2 separate regions of the Homo sapiens genome follow, and region 1 is linked to region 2. Evidence: promoter capture Hi-C in human tissues and cell types (Jung and others, 2019). All regions are on one chromosome and are shown on one strand. The core of a region is centred on a gene start or on the middle of the fragment in contact, and the rest is flanking DNA. Distances in the headings are between cores, read along the strand shown. Region 1 has its middle 93 kb from the start of LSM5. Region 2 holds the start of PPP1R17 (protein phosphatase 1 regulatory subunit 17).

What was found. The method cuts DNA at HindIII sites, captures the fragments that hold promoters and counts their contacts. A contact is called where the count stands out against the background at its distance.
Region 1: a fragment that was not itself captured here is called in contact with the fragment with the promoter of PPP1R17 in region 2 in 3 of the 25 tissues and cell types used here (H1 embryonic stem cells, dorsolateral prefrontal cortex and stomach).

Annotation. Positions count from the first base shown.
Region 1 is chr7:32,394,752-32,400,758 of GRCh38, forward strand. It overlaps a transcript of PDE1C not described here. Among named protein-coding and RNA genes, the nearest start is that of LSM5, 93 kb to the right of the region's middle. The HindIII fragment of the contact is 5,072 bases long and covers 1-4,846 here.
Region 2 is chr7:31,682,940-31,688,832 of GRCh38, forward strand. PPP1R17 (protein phosphatase 1 regulatory subunit 17) reads left to right here and starts at 4,276. Exons shown (of 5, transcript NM_006658.5): 1 at 4,276-4,367. It also overlaps a transcript of PDE1C not described here. The HindIII fragment of the contact is 11,578 bases long and covers 1-5,893 here.

The DNA.
Region 1 (6,007 bases), core at 1,061-3,560, 710 kb after region 2:
TGCAGTGAACCATGATCATGCCACTGCACTCCAGCCTGGGTGACAGAGCGAGACCCTGTCTGAAAAAAATATCTAAATAAATAAAAGAGTCTGGAACCTTCCTCCCTTTTCTCTCTCTCTCTTCCTCTCTCACCTCCTCTCTCACCGTGTGACATGCTGGCTCCTCCTTGGCCTTCTGTCATGATTGGAAGCTTTCTGAGTTCCTCTCCAGAAGCAGATCTGGTGCCATGCTTCTTGTACAGCCTGCAGAGTTGTGAGCCAGATAAACCTCTTTCTCTATAAATTACCCAGCCTCAGGTATTCCTTTAGAGCAACGGCAAAATGAATTGAGACAACTGCGATATGGAAAAGGTGAGAAATCTGGCCTATAATCATTCATTTATTCAATAACTATTTGAGCACATGCTATGTGCCAAGAACTGTACTCAATGCTAGTAATACAAAGATGGGGAGAAACAAACATCAAGGAGGAAAAGACATGTAAAACACATACCTCACAATGTCATAAGTGCAGCAGTCAAAACAGGTACAGGGGGAAGTGTGCTTTGGGAGGTCAGGGAAGGCTTCCTGGAGGAGGTGACTCTTCAACTGAGTTTACAGAGAAAAGTAAAAGATTTCCAGAAAGATGAGGGGGGCAAGAAACTACAGATAGAGGCATCAGCAGAGGCACAAAGGCATAAAAAGGGATATGGGTGAGGAAATAATGTGATTCCATATTGCTAGGATAGAAGGTGGTGAGGTGGGGGGTAGTGGTAGAGGAGGTGGACAGGTGCGCAGAAGCCAGTGAGGATGGGCTTAGACTGTTGATCTTCATCCTATCAGCAAGCTGGGAAGTGAACTTACAGTTTTTATCTGTTATTCCAATGACCTAAACTAAAACCTGGGGTAAGGCTATAAATTACAGAGAAAAAACTACTGGGTCAGTACAAGAAGAAACATTTTAGTTAGCTACAGCTACAAAGCTAAGAAGTTGTTTTACAGACTCTTGATCTTCACGAGTAGCAGACAGAGATATTTGTTAGAGATATAATAAAATTTGTTAGAGATATAATAAAAAGCATTCTCAGGAAAACCTTTATGAGGAAAACTTTAAAACACTCCTGATTGAACAATTCTAAAAAAAATATTTTACTTTCTTTACTTTTTCTTCTTGCCTTCAAATTTAATTTACAGGAAAAACATATTTTCTTTTTGGATAGACAACATAGTATTATATCTTAAAAACTCAGTAGTCCCTAAATTAATTTAAAAGTGAACGCAATCACAATAAAAATATCAACAAGCTTTTTTAAAATAATGGAGCTAGATAAGTTGATACTAAAGTTTATATGGCAAAAGAATCATAAAATAGCTGGAAAACCCAAAAGAGAAAAGCTATGAGGGTGGACTAGCCCCAGCAGAGAGTAAAACATACTATTAAGCTTCCATAATTAAAATGGATATGTAGCCAGGTGCAGTGGCTCACACCTGTAATCCCAACACTTTGGGAGGCTGAGGCAGGTGGATTGCTTGAGCCCAGGAATTCAAGAGCAGCCAGGGCAACATGGCAAAACCCTGTCTCTATAAAAATACAAAAATTGGCTGGGCATGGTGGTGCGTGCCTGTAGTCCCAGCTACTAGGGAGACTGAAGTGAGAGGATCACTTGAGCCCAGGAGGTCGAGGTGGCAGTGAGCAGAGATCATGCCACTGCACTCCAGCCTGAACAACAGAGTGAGACCTTGTGTCAAAAAACAAAAATAAAAAATAAAGTGGATATGCATATTGAAGTATGGGGGGGGGGAGTGTTGTAATGTCTTCAACTTTCTTTGAAATGCATGAAAAAATAAGATGAATTGATGGATGAATAGAGAGATAAGAGATGGATAAGTATGTGACAAAGCAAATGTAATGAAGTGTTCACTGTAGAATACAGACAGATACATGGGTTTCACTGTAAAATTCTTTCAACTTTGTGTATGTTTGTTATAGTAAAATGTTTTTTTTAAACTGGTGCCAAAAAAATAAAAACAACGTGAAACCAGCATAAGAATAAATCACAGGGAAATGTAATGAACAAACTGCAAAAACAGTCCAAAGTACACATGGAAATCTAATATTTGATACAGGTGGTATCTCAAATCATTTAGAGAAGAGATGAACATTTTATCAAATGACTTAAGGACAACTTCATAACCATTTGGAAAAAGATTGATTTAGATGCATATCTCACACCATAAACAAGGAAAAACTTAAAAAGGATCAGAGACCTAAAATTAAAAAACGAAACCAAATACTACATGAAAACATGGGTGAATTTCTCTACAAACTCCAGGTAGGGAAAAGCTTCCTAACTATGACTCAAAATCCAGATGCAATAAAGGAAAAGGTCTATAAATTTTACTATACTGAAATATACTTTCATGTGACAAAAAATATCATAACCAAAGCCGAAAAAGAAAATGTTCATAACATATAACAGATAAAGGGCCAATATCCTAATATATTTTTAACTCTTAAAAATTGAGAGGGACTAATGCCAGAAACCCAGAAAAAAATAAGTAAAAGACATGAACAGAAAACTTAAACAAAAATATATTAAACTTCATCCATAATTTTTTGATGCAAACTATAACTACCCCGAGATACCATTTCTCACATATCAGATTGACGGAAATTTAGAAGCTTGACAACATATTGTCAAGGCTGGAGGCAAATACAAGTTCTTATTCATTGCTAGTGGGAATGCAAACTGGTTCAGCTCTTGTAGAGGAGAATTTGGCAAATTTTTAAAAATTACATGTGCATTTGCCTAGCAATCTCATTTCTAGACCTTTAACTTGATGATACACCTCCAAACTATATGAAAATACATATATACAAGGTTATACATTGCAACTTTATTTGTAATTGCAATATATTGGAAACAATCTAAATGCCTATAGGAGAGAACATGGTTGAATAAATTATGGAACATCTGCAACTGTTTAAGAAAAAAAAGTGAGGGTCAGGCACGGTGGCTCACGCCTGTAATCTCAGCACTTTGGGAGGCCCAGGTGGGCAGATCATGAGGTCAGAGTTCGAGACTAGTCTGGCCAACATGGTGAAACCTCATCTCTACTAAAGATACAAAAAAAAAAAATTAGCCGGGCATGGTGGCATGCACCTGTAATCCCAGCACTTTGGGAGGCCAAGGCAGGTAGATCATGAGGTCAGGAGATCGAGACCATCCTGGCTAACACAGTGACACCCCTCATCTACTAAAAATAAAAAAATTAGCCGGGGGTGGTGGCGGGCGCCTGTAGTCCCAGCTACTCTGGAGGCTGAGGCAGGAGAATGGCGTGAACCCAGCAGGCGGAGCTTGCAGTGAGCCGAGATCGCGCCACTGCACTCCAGCCTGGGCTGCAGAGCAAGACTCCGTCTCAAAAAAAAAAATTAGCCAAGCATGATGGCATGCACCTGTAATCCCAGCTACTCAGGAGGCTGAGGCAGGAGAATCAGTTGAACTCAGGAGGCAGAGCTTGCAGTGAGCCGAGATTGCGCCAGCCTGGGTGACAGGGCGAGACTCCGTCTCAAAAAAAAAAAAAAGAAAAAGAAAAAGTGAGGAAGATCTGTATGAACTGATACGGGATGATTTCCAAGATCACTTGGTAGGAACTGTGATTTTTTTTTTCTTTTGAGACAGAGTCTTGCTCTGTCACCCAGGGTAGAGTGCAGTGGCGCAATCTTGGCTGGCCACAACCTCCACTACCTGGGTTCAAGTGATTCTCCTGCCTCAGCCTCCCAAGTAGCTGGGATTACAGGTGCATGCCACCAAACCCAGCTGATATTTGTATTTTTAGTAGAGATGGGGTTTCACCATATTGGCCAGGCAGGTCTCAAACTCCTGACCTCAAGTGATCCTCCCGTCTCGGCCTCCCAAAGTGCTGGGATTACAGGCGTGAACCACGGTGCCCGGCCAGAACTGTGATCCTAGCTGAGGGACAGCCAGCTAATGGTGACCCTACAGGAAGGGAACTTGGGGGAATAAATGACCTGATATTACTCTCCTTCCATCCTCCATTCTTCGGCACATTCTCATTGGCACAACCCAAACAGAAGACAGAAAGTAAGAGCAGACCATAAAGGTCAGCCTCCCAGATTAGGTAAGGGTGGAAAGTGGGTTTGGAGGATTAAACAGATCACCAGCACATAGGGTAACTTTTCCTCTTGCTAGACATTTAGTTTGCATCTGATTCTTCACTATTACAAATAGTGAACACCCTTACCCAGCAAATGTTTAACTGGGGGAGGGGCCCTGATTTGTGGTGTTTTCCACGGTATTCAGTATATGGTGTGAATACAGGGACATATACACAGTGAACTATGTCACTATTAGCAAGCTACCATTGTGAAATCACTGGATGAGGAGCTGGGAAGAGGTGTGCTCAGTTGGTTCTCATAGTCGATCAAGCCATCACCTACACACGGTTGTGTGTCCTCAGAGTTTTGTCCCCATGTTGGATTGCATTCTTAGAATAAATTCTTAGATTTAGAATGACTGGAACAATAGATCCAAATACTTTGTGGGATCCTGTACTGGTCAGACCCTGTAGGATCCTGTATTATTTTGCCACAACAAAATGCCATAGACTGAGTGGCTTAAGCAACAGAAATTTATTTTCTCATGGTTCTGGAGGCTGGAAGTCCATCATCAGGGTGCTAGCATGGTTGGGTCCTGGTGAGAGCCTACAGCTGGCTTGCGGGCGGTGCCTCTCACTATGTCCTCATGTGGCAGAGAGATCTTGCTCATCCTCGTCTTATAAGGCCACAGTCTTATTGGTTCAGGGATCCACCCTATGACTTCATTTAACTTTTTTTTTTTTTTTTTTTGAGACAGAGTCTTCCTCTGTTGCCCAGACTGGAATGCAGTGGCACAATCCCAGCTCACTGCAACTTCTGCCTCCTGTGTTCAAATGATTCTCATGCCTCAGCCTCCCAAGTTGCTGGGATTACAGGCATGTGCCACCACACCCAGCTAATCTTTTGTATTTTTAGTAGAGACAGGGTTTTGCCATTTTGGTCAGGCTGGTCTTGAACTCCTAGCCTCAAGCAATCCTCCCATTTCGGCCTCTCAAAGTGCTAGGATTACAGGCATGAGCCACCACACCAGGCCTGACTTCATTTAACCTTAATTACCTCCTAAAGACCCTATCTCCAGATATAGTTATATTGTGGGTTAGGGCTTCGACATACAAATTTAGAGGGGTGCAGGGAGGATACAGTTCTGTCCATAGAAGATCCTTGTATGTACTGAACAGGTTCTCATTTGTAAAGTCCTAGGATAGTCCCATAAAGTAGGTAGAGCTCTAAACCTGGAAATTTCATTGTTCCTTCCTCTGAGAAACATAGTTCACTGTGTATATGTCCCTGTATTCACACCGTATTATTATTAATTCCCCAACAAGAGTGAAAGCCCTCAACAGAAAAGACTCTGTCTTAGATTTATACCACAGTGCCTGGCACAGACGTGTCTAGCACAGAAAATGGTTTTAATAGCATGAATGGACAAATGAAGAAACTTAAATTTGAATCCCAACTCTGCCTCCAACTCAAGGCATGACCTTTGACAAATCAGTCTTCTTCTCTAAATCTGAATTTCCTCATCCATTTTCCCCCAACTGTGTCCCACTGAGATGTTCTATGCAAAAAAAAGAAAAAAGAAAATGGGAGTCTGTGGTCAGACGGAAAATACTGCAGGCTAGATTTGGCTGTTAAGAGTTACAATGCACATTTCTAGAACAAAGTATTTAAGAAGTCCAGCAGTGAGGAAACCAGTTTAATTTCGTTTAACCATCAGCTCCCAAATGTGTTTGCCATGGAAAGTTTTCTTTTCTCCTGGAGCTGGTGTTCCTCAGAGTTCACATTGGAAAACACTGGACTAGAAGGTGTTTAAGGCTCTTCCCTGCTCTGACATTTATGATTTTGTCACAGAATGGCCCCGACTGGACTTTGAAACTACTCAAGCCAGATGATGGAAATGAAGCCATG
Region 2 (5,893 bases), core at 3,026-5,525:
AGAGAGAGGACAGATTAGTGGTTGTCAGGGACCACTGTGGAGTCTGGGAGGGTAAAGGGAAGGGGCATGGCTGTAAAAGAGCAACAGGAGAGATCTCTGTGGTGTTGGAAATGTTTAGTATCTTGACTGGTGCTGGATACAAGAACTTACACAAATGATAAAATTGTATAGAACTCAATACACACAGACAGAGTTGGGGAAATCTGAAGATAGGTGGATTGTACCAATATCAATACTGTCTTTGAGATACTGTGATATTGTGCTGTAGTTTTACAAAATGTCACCATCAGGGGAAACTGTGCACAATATACAAGGGATCTATCTCTCTGTATTATTTCTTACAACTACATGTGAACTACAATTATCTCAATTAAAATGCCAATTAAAATAAAATAGGAAAAGACAACCATTCACCTTGCCTCTTATTTTAGTAGGTATTTATTGTTTAATGTGACAATTCATATCTGAAAGATTAAATATTTTCTATTTTTTTTCAGTGAAATGATAATAAATGACATCAGATTTTCTTATAGATTAAAGAGTTCCCTATTATCAGGACCTGACATGTGTTCAAAACTGCCCAGAGCAAAGACACAGTGCTCACTTACCAGGGGATATTGATCTGAGACAGCTCACTCTCCTCTCTAAGAGGCTGATGGAGACAACCAACGAGATCCAGCAAGATCTCTGGGATAAAACAGGCCTATGAATATTCAGTGCTCTCTCTTCCTCTCTCTTTCCCCCTCCCTGAATTGAGAAGGTGGAGCCTCATCACTCATCAGCACAGAAACTACCCCTAGATTGGCTATGAAAGGCAAATCTTTTAAGAGAACATTTTATAGATTATTGACTAAAATAAATTGTCTGGAAATGCTCAATCATTTTATAAATAATTCTTATTCATAAAGATGGGATATTTGTGATTAAAGTGAAATATATTCATTTAAAGCTAGTTACCATCAGGCATCCATCAGGAATGAAGGCACAAGTGAATTCAGCCATACATCAAAGGGCTCTTGGACTACAAATCATGCCATGGACACAACGGCTCCTTGCACTTATGCTGGGAGCGCTGTAGGCTGAGGGTCTATGACTTCAGCACTGCACATATGTGGTTGTTATTTAGAACTCTCCAAGGTATAGATTTACATTACCATCTGCCCTGTCAGTTGCTGTTTACATCTGCCTTAAAAGGGGGAGGGGCATAATCAATTAAAGAGTATGTACGAAGCCCTGGGAAAAATCAGCAACAGCAACAACAGCCCGAACTTGGGAGTAGTAGACATGTCTATTCAAAGGGGAAATCAGGGATTCATACTCTTCTGTCTTTGAAAATATTCCCTTTGAACTGTGGAAATTAAGTGACAAAAGGATTTGTTAAAATCTACAGGCTGGAATATGCTTAACACAATTAAGCTTCTCCAAAGAGCCTCAGAAAAATCTAAATTATATATTTTAAAATTCATTAATGATGAATTGGACTTTATAAAAATTTAAAAGCTATGCTTTGTGAAAGACTCCATGAAAAGATTAAAAATACAAACAGCAAACTGGGAGAAAGTATTTGCAACCCATATTTCTAATAAAGAACTAGTATCTGGAATATCTAGGATCCAGTTCAAAACTCAACAGTAATATAAAAAGTCCCATTAGAAGGTAGACAAGAGACATGAAGTAACATTTCACCAGAGAAACTACGCAGATGACAAATAAGCACATGAAAAAATGTTTAGCATAATTAGTCATGCACAGAATGCAAATTAAAACCATGACGAGATATTACTACTGAACCTACCTCTGAGAATGGCTTTTTAAAAATACTGGCAACACCAAATTCTGGTGAAGATACAGAGAAACTGGACCCTTCGTACATTGCTGGTGGGAATGGGAAATGCTACAGCCGCTTTGGTGTTATTGTAAAAGGAAACATGCAATTGTCAGTAATTACTCTTCTGGGCATTATCCCAGAGAAATTAAAAATTATGTTCACGCAAAAGCCTCTCTACATGAATGTTCATAGCAGCTTTATTTGTAATAGCCAAACATTGGTAACAATCCAGGTGTATATACAAGATGTCACACCAACTGTGGTCCATTCTATGGAATACTATTCAGCAATGACAAAGAACAAATTATTGACACACACAACAACCTGAATGGATCTCTAGGGAATAATGCTGAGTGAAAAAAAAAAAGCCAAACCCAAAAGGCTACCTACTGTATTATTCCATTATTAAAACATTCTTGAATTGACAAAATTATAGAAATGGAGAATAGATTCATGGTTGCCGAGTTTAAAAAGTGATTGGGAGCAGGAGGTTAGGAAGGAACGGAGGGGGGCATGGCTATATAACGGCAAGATAAGGGAGGCTTGTGGTGACAGAAATGTTCTGTATATATTCATGTAAATATCAACATACTGGTTTTGATATTGTAGGATAGTTTCATAAGATGTTACCATTGGATATAACTGCTTACGTATAGGAGATCTCCCTGTATTATCCCTCACAACGACATGTAGATCTATTACCTCAAAACAGTTTAATTCAAAAGAAGAATTCAAGGATTTCAGAAGGAAAGTATATCTTTTCCACTCAAGTGTGGACTGAAGATGCTGCTAACTCATTGGCCAACAAGGCTGTTGTTAAGAAGATAAAGTAAGGCAGGGTTTAATGCCTAGGTGATGGGTTGATAGGTCCAGCAAACCACCATGGCACACGTTTACCTATGTAACAAACCTGCACGTCCTGCACATGTGTCCCAGCACTGAAAATAAAATAAAATTTAAAAAATGAAGAAGATAAAGCAGGCAGTTTTGAACACAGACCTGCTTCTAGGCCCTGTCCCTCAACATCTAGGGCCTTCCCTTCCTAGACAAGAGCATCACCTTTCAGCAACCCTCATCTCTTCCCAGGAGGTCCCAATAAGGATCAACACAAAATGGAACAGGCAAAGAAGTCCATTCTCTGCTTATCTGTTACCATGGCAAAAGTCTAACCCTAGGAGTCAACCTCTTGGTGAGTTTACTATGGTTCTAGCCCTGTTATTTGGGATCCTGGCAAGTGGGAGGGAGGCACCAACAAACACATTGCCAGTGGCAAGCAGGCAGTTGAAACCAAGGGGTTGCCAGGGACCTGCTCTGCAGGGAACCTCAGGTAAGACTGGAAAAAATATGGATGTGTGGATGGTGCTCACGTATCTTCTGTGAGAACATATTTCTTGGGCATCACTGGGTGGTCCATTGGCTGCTATCAGGGGGTCTGGAGCCCTTCTAGTGGGTCCTGATACCTACCTGATCTCCCAGACTGGCCTTCCTGCTTTGGAGTCAAAACTGCTGCTCCTCCAAACCCCAGTGGGCTCTCCTCCAGTGAGCAGACCCAAAACATAGAACCTTCCTCTCCAAAAGACAGCATGTCTCCCGCCTCTCCCACCTTGCTTAAACATCCACTCTTGAGTGCCTACGTATTCCTAATATTGGTACATTTGGCTTTGTTCCTTTGAAGGAGGAAATTTTTTCTGGCCTGCACACTATAACCTATAGAGTTGGGGGCTGCTTTCTTTGCTATGTGCTGTTTGAAATGCTCTCTTTGCTGAGAGGTATTGCAAAGTGGTTACAAGCGTGGACCCTAGCATTTCATTACCCCATTCAAACCCTAGCTTCACCATGTGGGGAGACCTTGGTCAGATGATTTGGTAACTCTTGAGCCCCAGCTTCCTCATCAATAAAATGGGATGATGACTGTAGCTCATCTCACAAGGTTGGCCTGAGGGTTAAGTAAGTAGATATGTGTGAAGTCTCTAGAAGAGTGTCTGGCATTTTGGTAGCCTTACATAAATGTTAGCAGTAGCTACCCTTCTCTTCCTCCTCATGATAGTACTTTGAGAAGCAGCAATAGTGATTGAAAGTACTCTGGATTTAAACTTAAATAGCTTTGAGAGTCGAAATTAGCTGTGGCCTCTCTTGGGCATATCACTTAACTTCTTGTGCCTCAGTTTCCATATTTACAAAATCAGGCCAAAAAAAATCTATCGCATGGGAATTCAATGATGTAGCTGGTTTGTCTGAATTTCTCTGGTGTGCACACCGGAAACTCAAAGCACGACTCTATACTGTACTTTTGTAATGTACAATGATTGCCGTGGAGAGCAGCGATGGAGATGTTAGTCCTCTTTCCTTCTCCATCCCCCTTGCCCTGGTGCCTGTGAAACAGAGCATCCCCATGGCAACAGCAGCAGCTGGTCCCTAGATAAGAGGAGCTGGAGCCGGCCAGCAGCAGCCACTGCCGCAGAGGAGCCAGGCCCAGCCTCGGTGAGCACACACGCCCTCCCTGTCTCTCGCCTTCGCTTCCCTGCATCTGCGCTGATTGGTAAGTGCTTCAGATTTTTACTCCAAGAACTTTTGTGGTGAGAAAAGCAAGTTTCCAGTCAGTTACTGGGACAAAGAAGGCTGTAGCTGGTGGCACGGGGTTGTGCTTTATGGAGCAAGGCTAAGCTGGGGCCGAGTGGACAGCAGAAAAAGTTACCACTTTCAAGTCATTCTTCCAAGGGAGGGAATGGAGTTCTGTAAAAGACTGAACCCTCACAAACTCATTTGCAAAGTTTCAAGATGAAGTTGGTGTATCTGCATATTCACACAGGATAGAGAGGTTTATCTTCCAAGGCTGGGGAAAGTACAGAAAGTATGCTTCTCAAAACACATTCTCCATGCCCTACTTTAAGTCAGTCTCTCCTCCAGGAATACTGCCAATTTAGGTTTTCTAAATGAACAAATCTGATTTTAAAAGACGGTACTTTTTGACCTGAATTCAATCCTCTGGTTAAAAAGAGGTTTGACAATGAATATGTATTTTACATAGCCAGAGGGTGCATTAACGAGATACCACATAGGCTGTGGATACAACCTTCTACCCTTTTATTCCATCCAGTAAATCAAGACCTGATTACTTTGGGGGATATTCTTCAGAATACCGTATGGTAAGCTAAGTGTCAACTCGCTTCTGAGAATCAGTTCTATTATGTTCCCAAGATTTAGAAATGGGTTGGTTTTTGTCTTGAACTATTCTCATCTCATTACCAGCTTCAGAGAAGGCCAGAGATGGGATAAAGAGATAATTCTGATAGATCAATTTAGATAGACATATAATCACAAATGGAGGACTGAAAGATCCAAGAAGGTCCCTCACACTCACGAAAATATCAGTGTGTAGGACCTGGGCTCGGGACTCCATGCACATTCTATGGGTAATACTCTCAACAACCCTGGAGAAGAGCCACTATCTTCCCCCATTTAACAGATTTGAAAACTAAATTTTTGAGAGAACAGATAACTGTCCCAAGTTCACCCAGCTAGAGAGTGGTACAAGCAGCCAAACGTTGGCTTCTACCTTATATTGACTCACAGCATCCAATCTTAAAGTTGAGAGGAATTTTCTTCCCATAATTTAAACCGCATATTCTCACATCCAACTGAGAAAACCGCTCAATGATAAGAGAAAAGACAAAAAATCCAGACCAGCTTCTGACCACACACTGAACCAACTAATGTGTTTCAGCTCCGCTGGTGTGCCTGCCTTTCTGCAATATAGTGGGGTCCCTTTTCTGGCACCCAGTTCCTTCCCCCTTTCAGTTCCTGTTCTCAAAAGAGAAGGTGACCTTTGTCATTAACAATCCCTGTGTATTGTGACATCAATTTACATATTGCTGCTCTTAGTGGTATTTGCATTTACAAGTATCTCTCTGTAAAAAGAAAGGTTTTGTCCCTTGTGAAAAGGAAGGTAAGGATTAGTAAGAGGAAGTTACAAGAGTTTAAAATCTGAAATCCTGAAATCCTTTCTCAAACCCTGAAATCATATCTCTTGGTCTCTTGCATACTACACTGAATACCTACATTCTG